Linked DNA regions of Homo sapiens: region 2 is linked to region 1. The links are contacts of gene promoters, found by promoter capture Hi-C in human tissues and cell types (Jung and others, 2019). All regions are on one chromosome and are shown on one strand. Each heading gives the region's core, a stretch centred on a gene start or on the middle of the fragment in contact. The rest is flanking DNA. Distances are from core to core; before and after follow the strand shown.

What was found. The method cuts DNA at HindIII sites, captures the fragments that hold promoters and counts their contacts. A contact is called where the count stands out against the background at its distance.
Region 2: a contact is called between a fragment that was not itself captured here and the fragment with the promoter of TMTC1 in region 1, in 1 of the 25 tissues and cell types used here (dorsolateral prefrontal cortex).

The regions. Positions count from the first base shown.
Region 1 is chr12:29,782,043-29,785,454 of GRCh38, forward strand. TMTC1 (transmembrane O-mannosyltransferase targeting cadherins 1) reads right to left here and starts at 1,900. Exons shown (of 18, transcript NM_001193451.2): 1 at 1,408-1,900. The coding sequence starts at 1,709. The HindIII fragment of the contact is 32,748 bases long and covers 1-3,412 here.
Region 2 is chr12:30,500,961-30,504,372 of GRCh38, forward strand. It overlaps the pseudogene LOC100422352. Among named protein-coding and RNA genes, the nearest start is that of IPO8, 190 kb to the right of the region's middle. The HindIII fragment of the contact is 6,385 bases long and covers 1-3,412 here.

The sequences.
Region 1 (3,412 bases), core at 650-3,149:
CTAAATTAACCAACAACCCTGACTGTAATAATGAAAAAGCAGGTCAATCTAGAAGTGAAACATTTATATTTGTCCCAAGGAGATTTTAAGAAACATCTGGGAAACTGAATAGCGAGGTTAGCCAAGGTTATCTTTCAGTAGAAAACGAGAACAACTTTCTAAGAGAACAAATGTCTATAACACATTCTCTTCAAAGTCAAATATGTAATTTTCTCACTCTCCTTAAAAACATTAAACTTTCAGTGGAAGACGTAAGTCAAAAGCCCATGAATTGTTGCCGATTGCTATGGTTTCCTTTTCTGAGTCATCAGAGACACCTGTCAAGAGGCCTCAGCCTCTCATCCAGAGCAGGCTTTTCAAGCTGCCAACCCAGTCTCAAATAATCATTACCATAAACACGGGTTCCTATTACACCCGTTGCAAAAAGGCTTAAAACGCCGATAATAGCGCACCAATATTATTTCAACAGTTTTGACCGGCGCGTTAAAATGAACTTCAATGCTGAGCCACATTATAAAGGGTTGAGTCAAGCTCCTGATTGTGTAAGATAGCATTTCCCTTAAATGAGCACTTCTCTTCTTTCCTCAGAAGCTAGGCTTCTTTTCAAATTAAAGAAAATACTCCACCCCTCAAAAACCTGGCATATTCTCGGTTCCCTTTACGCTTATTCACACCAGAAACGCTGAATCATGACTCCGAGGTTGTAAAAGAAAAACTATTTCGGCTGGGGCCCCAGGGTCCCTGGAGAAGCCTAGGCTCTGCGTTACCTCTCTCTGCACCTTCTAAAGTCTAGATCCAGAGAAGTCTGGCAGATTGGAGAGCCTCTGGGAGCAGCCAAGGGTGCAAGGCGGGGGCTGGGGGGCTCGGGAGAGTTTTCTGCTCCCTCTCCTGAACCCACGCAGCCCTGTCAGCTCAAGGCTCCCGCCTCGTCTCATCTGAACGAAACCCTTAAGGGGCTGATACACTTCTCATCTGCAAAGCTGCCCAACAGCCTCCGAGAAATTCTCTACTTGGAAGCATCGCCACCACCGCCACCCCTCCGGAACCCTCTGGGTCCGCGCTAGTCCCACTTGGTCACGATCCGGCAGGCGAAGGGGTGCGGAGGCGGTTTCACCAGCCCGCTCCCAGCCCTGCCTCGAGAGAGAAGCCCGCTGAGAGGGCAGACAGTTGAGAAACTCGATCCCAACTCCCCAGCCGGCGCCTCCCGAACCGCCCCGAGAGCCCAGATTAGCCGGGCAGTGGATCCCGGAGCAAAGTGCCATGCACATCCTGGAGAGGAGGGAGGCGTGGAGGGAAAGGGCGGCAAAAATGAAATGCCCCCAAGTCAGTCCCGCAACTTCTCCCGGTCCGAGGGACGGGCGGAGGGTAGAGGAGGCAGCGGCGGCTAGCGCGAGGTGAGGGACTCACTTGAAGGTGAGGACGCAGAGCGGCCGGTAGGACTTGTGGCTGGTGTTCTCGGCCATGCCCTTGCCCCAGAAGTCGTTGGTGAAGATGCCCCAGCGGAGCGGGGCGCCGGGCCGCACGTCGGGGTTGTTCACGATCGCCCACACGTCGTCGTGCACGAACTCGCCCTGCAGGGAGCGGCCGTAGCACAGGCAGCTTGCCCCGGCCAGCAGCGCCGCGGCCCCGGCCGGCGCTAGCCCGCAGCCCCGCCGCCGGGAGGGTGTGCGGTCCCCGCCGCCGCCTCGGGCAGAGGTGGTCACCACCATCGCGCCGCCGCCGCCGCTGCTGCCCTGGCCTCTCCCGGGCGTCTGGCATCCTCCCCTACCGGGGCCCCGGCGGCGCGCGGCGTCTGCCCGGAGGGGGGCTCGGGCATGGTGCTGCGGCAGCTGGACCCGCCGCGAGCTCCCCGCGCTCCGCCGCCGCCTGCGCCGCGGAGTTGGCCCAGCTGCAAATAAACAGCAGTCCCCCCGCCTCCCCCGGCCATCGCCACCTCCTCCGCCCCACTGCGCATGCCCGCTCGCTCTCTCTTCCACCGCCCCCCAATCCCGGGACGCGGGCCGGTTCCCCCGCACAGCCCGGCGCCCTCTGCCCCCGGCCCGCCTTGCTTGCAGGTGGACCGGGGTTCGCGGCGCGCGGCTGCCCGGGAGCTGCGGGGAAGGACACCCCAGGTTCCCACTTGCGGTGTCCGGCTGTGCTCACCCCCACGCCCCCGCCCCCATCCTTCTCCCCCGAATGGGGCTGGGAAGGGGCACATCTGGCGGACCCCTCCCGGGGGACCCAGGAGGGTTTAGCAGGTGCGCAGTCTGGAACCCCCACACCCACCTTCCAGGGAGAAAAGTGCCGCTGCTTCCCGGGAAGTTCCCGGCTTTTCAGCACCCGGGACAACAGCAGCGGCGCCCGGAGAGACGCTCTCCACCCGCCCCGCGCTCGCGTCCAGTCGCCGGCTCTGTGCTCTCCTGCCCGGGCTTTCTCTCACCCGCCCGGCGCGGCGTCCCGCTTGGCGGAGGAACCCGCGGGGATAGGGAGCACCTTCCTCAAAGCCAGGAGAAGGGGTCTCCCTGGACAAGGACATCCTGCTCGCCCTGCCCGGGTGTGTTCAGAGGCGCCACCGGCTCTTTAACTTTACAGCCCCTTTCTTGGCCCGCACTTACAAAAAGTACCAGGTTCGAGTTTTGGTTTGGGCCTGGGAGCCGAATTGTCTTCTGAAACATTTCTTATTTTATTGTTTGCTCAAGATAATTTGGGAGATGCCAAGCAAACTACTTTTTCTATCTAGCTGGATCACTTGGGTCTCATTATTTCCTGGGCTGTGGGCGTGTTTGAACAGGGCGGGGAAGAAGGTGGGGATGGGGGGATGGGGAGGTGGGGGCGATTTGTATTAGGGCCTCTGGCTTTGGCTCCTAAACTTCCTGTCTTTCTGAAAGATTGTTTTCTTTTTTAAAATACTAATTTTAATAATATGTCCCAGAGTGATGATTACTAGAATTTCTCCAGGTCTGAAAATTCTATTTGTTCTTTCAGGCACCTTCTAAATTTCCATTGCTGAGTGTTAGAAGTTATCAGGAATTTGACACATCCAGATAGAAAAACTGAAAATAAAAAGTCACCCTTTTATTCTCATCCTCCCCAAACCCTTAAAAAGCTCACCGACATAATCCAGAAATTGTTCCTCTGCTATGAGTATTTGTGTGGCTCTTTACTATAACAACTTACTTTTTAAAAAATTTTAAGACATCTGAGCAGTTGAAAAGTCAATGAATTAAGATAAACTTATTGTAACTCAAAGTACGTTTCACCCATTTTCACTTTGTTTATTTGGTGACTTGAAATTAGTGACTGAGAAATGAAACTGGAAGTCCTGGACATGGATGTTTTCATTCTTCCATCAAAATCTTTCACGCTTGGTAACCTTAATATACCGACTTTAATATCTAGACACACCTGAGTCTATTTCCCCGTATAACACACT
Region 2 (3,412 bases), core at 374-2,873, 720 kb after region 1:
CCTTTGCTACCTTTCTCTATGCCCCATACACACTCAGCAGCAGATGACGTCATTCAGAACTTTTACTAAGAATAAAGAGTTCGGTTGGGCATGGTGGCTCACACCTGTAATCCCAGCACTTTAGGAGGCCGAGGCGGGTGGATCACCTGAGGCCAGGCGTTCGAGACCAGCCTGGCCAACATGGCGAAACCCTGTCTCTACTAAAAATACAAAAATTAGCCAGGCGTGATAGCGGGGGCCTGTAGTCCCAGCAACTCCAGAGGCTGAGGCAGGAGAATCACTTGAACCTGGAAGGCAGAGGTTGCAGTGAGCCGAGATGGAGCCACTGCACTCCAGCCTGAGAGATGGCGCGAGACTCTGTCTCATAAAAAAAGAAAAAAAAAAAGAGAGAGAGAATACAGAGTTCATCTAAAGTGAATTCCTAAGGGCCTTCTCTTGGGCTTCAGCCCTCTTGTTTTCCTCAAAAATGAAGGGTTTGACACTGTTGAATCTCTTGCCATTCCCATTCCTCCTATTCTCCTACTTTTTTACTCCTACGGACTCTGACCCTCACTTTTTTGAAAGTCTCTTATTCTGTGCTGATGTGGTCACGTAGTTTGTTCCTTCTGTATCTGATAACACTCCTCCTCTAAATTTAGGAGGTCAGAGATATTCATTGATTACCCATTGTCTACACATATATTGTCCAAACTTTTTAGCATTCAGGACTTTTCATAATCCAGTTACTTTTCACCATTATCTTCTACACTCTTATGCTGTGCAGCCTCCAGATAAAATAATTACTTGTCCATGCATGGGAAATACAATGCTACCAAAATACATTTTATGGTGTTAAGAAATAACCAGTATTTTTTGTGTTCCGCAGAGTCATGGCTTCCTGAGCAAAAACTACCAGCAACTTGGGTTAACAACAAGTTGATCAACAGCCACGCCTTGGAAGTTGGAGACAGTGAATTACTCCTGAGAGATTTACAGGTTTATTTGCCTCTGGGTTTCTTTATTTACAGTTCAAATGGTAATAAATTCCTGAGCCTAACATTTATATTTTAAAGAGCTATAACATCTAGGACCTTTTGCTTTTTTTCCAACAGAGGATTTCTTTGCATTAAAAACATAAGGTTTCCCTCCTTCCCCCTAAAAAGGAGGGAGCACCTGAACCAACATTTGAATAGGTTGTATAGGAACCAGCAGTTCCTATATAAGCACTTGCATTCACAATTTGGGAGTTCTTCCATATTGTATTCTCCTTCTACACCTCTGTACATCCAGGGTGACATCTGCTCCCATAGAATCACCCAAAGGGGAAACGGGGGACTGGAAAACCAACACCAAGATATCCTATAAGTAAACAATCAGCGTGTCTCTGACCCAGAAATCTTGTATTTGTTCTCAGGAGAAAATAAGTAACCTTACATATTAGAAACTTATCAAACGGAATTGTTCCAAAGAAATTCATTTAAATGCTTTGTATAAGGTGAGAATGAGAATTCTTTCACTTCATGTAGAACGTGTTTTTATTCAGGACTTTTTCAGTTCATTTAGAATATGTTTATGCTTAGCTTTTTATATAAAACTGAGTTATCTATAAAATGGTGGTGAAAGTACTTTCCCACTTTCTCAACATTTGGGAGTTATTTGTATATAAACGGATTGTTAATTATTGAAATGACATTGCAAGTGACTCTCTATCCCCCTCCTCGCCAGATCATCTATTCAACTTACAATTTCTGTTGAAGTTCTTAACCTGAGAAGGTTGTTAAGAAACCCATAGCATGGAATCTCCTGATTTGGAAGGGAATATCTTTCCCATCATTCTATTTTTTGCCATGATGGCTGCAGGAAACTGTGCAGAGAAGACGGTTCTGCACAGAAGCACTGTGGATACGAGCGACACTGTTAGGACCCTCTTGCTTTTATGTTTATATTCTCTTAGAGAAATTAGAATGTTTGGGGATTTTTATTTTCATTCTCCTTGAGAAACTGGAATGCCATTAATTTATGCCTTTATAAATATTTCTGGAAGAAGCCAGACCGCTTTGCCAATCATCAGAACTGCCATTTATTTCCCATATTGGGGAGTTCATTTTCCCACCCCTTTAGGCTTCTAAGCTTTGCTGGCTGCATTTGCAATCCAGTCCTTTTAAATCCTTATCTTGAGTGATGACTTATAACAGCTCCTAAATCGGGATGTTGGTTGAGGAAGGAATAATTCAGATTAAAAAAATCTGAGAAATAAGGCATCTTGATTAGCAATCAGCCTTACAAACATTATCTTACTTTAGGATCTCAGGCATGAAACTTCAAGTCTGCTTCAAGTTCATTTATTTCTTCAACCTCCTATCTTCAACCAGTCAGGAGTGAGCTGTTCCCTGCCACACAGACTGAATTTTTATATCCAAGACTTTTGAGATGATCAAAATCTTTCCAATCTAAAAGTGTTCTGAAAGAGAAACGTGAACAATTTTAGATTAATAGCAATAAGGAAAAAATAAATAAACAAAGAAGTGCAACACTCCATGAGTTGCCTCTGGAGCCCGCCTGCTGTGCGGGAGCTGCCTGCCCTCAAATCCCTGTCCTCACGTGATGACTCCCCATCCTTTCTTCAGTCACCTTGGGCAGGTCTCTCTACCAACCTCCTGTTTCCACCCCTCAAACAGGGCCCAGTCCTGTGGAAAACCAATTCACAAAGCACTTTCACTTCTCATGTGAACTGAACCACTCAGAGTGGTTGGTAGGATATGTATCATCACTCTTAACTTTCAGAAAAGGAAGTAGACTGGAGAAAGTCACACAGCAGTTCAGTGGGGAGCTGGTATTTTGGATTCTAATCCCAGAGCTCTTTCTCCTCTACCACACTGTCCTGTTGGCCAGTTTTCTGTTTTCTTTCCTCAGGAACTCTGCTATTTACCAGGATACGAACTTAGTTAATTTGTATTACCTCTCAAAGTCAAGGATTGCTCATTTATAAAATCAAAATAATATAAATACCAAACAGCAAAAAAGAACACAAAACTGGCCTGGTTAATTAAGAAAAAAGTAAATACATTGAAATATGTCAGGAGTTGCATTAAATACAAATAGACTGAATGCTTCAATTTAAAAATTAAGATTATTAGTCTGAATTGAAAAGAAGAAACCATCTATGGCCATACCACCCTGAACACAACTGATCTTGTCTGAAAGGAAAAAAAATAAATATTATGTTCCTTATAAGAGATACACCTTATATAAAATACCTTTATTTAAGGTATATCTGCCAACATCTTGGTGTTGGCAGGATTGGTTCTTTTTTGAGGGCTGGGAGAGAAACGTGTTTCAGACCCCTCTCATGGGTTGTGGATGGCTGTCATCTCTTCATAAGCCTCTGTGTCCAAATATTCCCTTCTTATAAAGGCAGCAGGCTTATTGAATT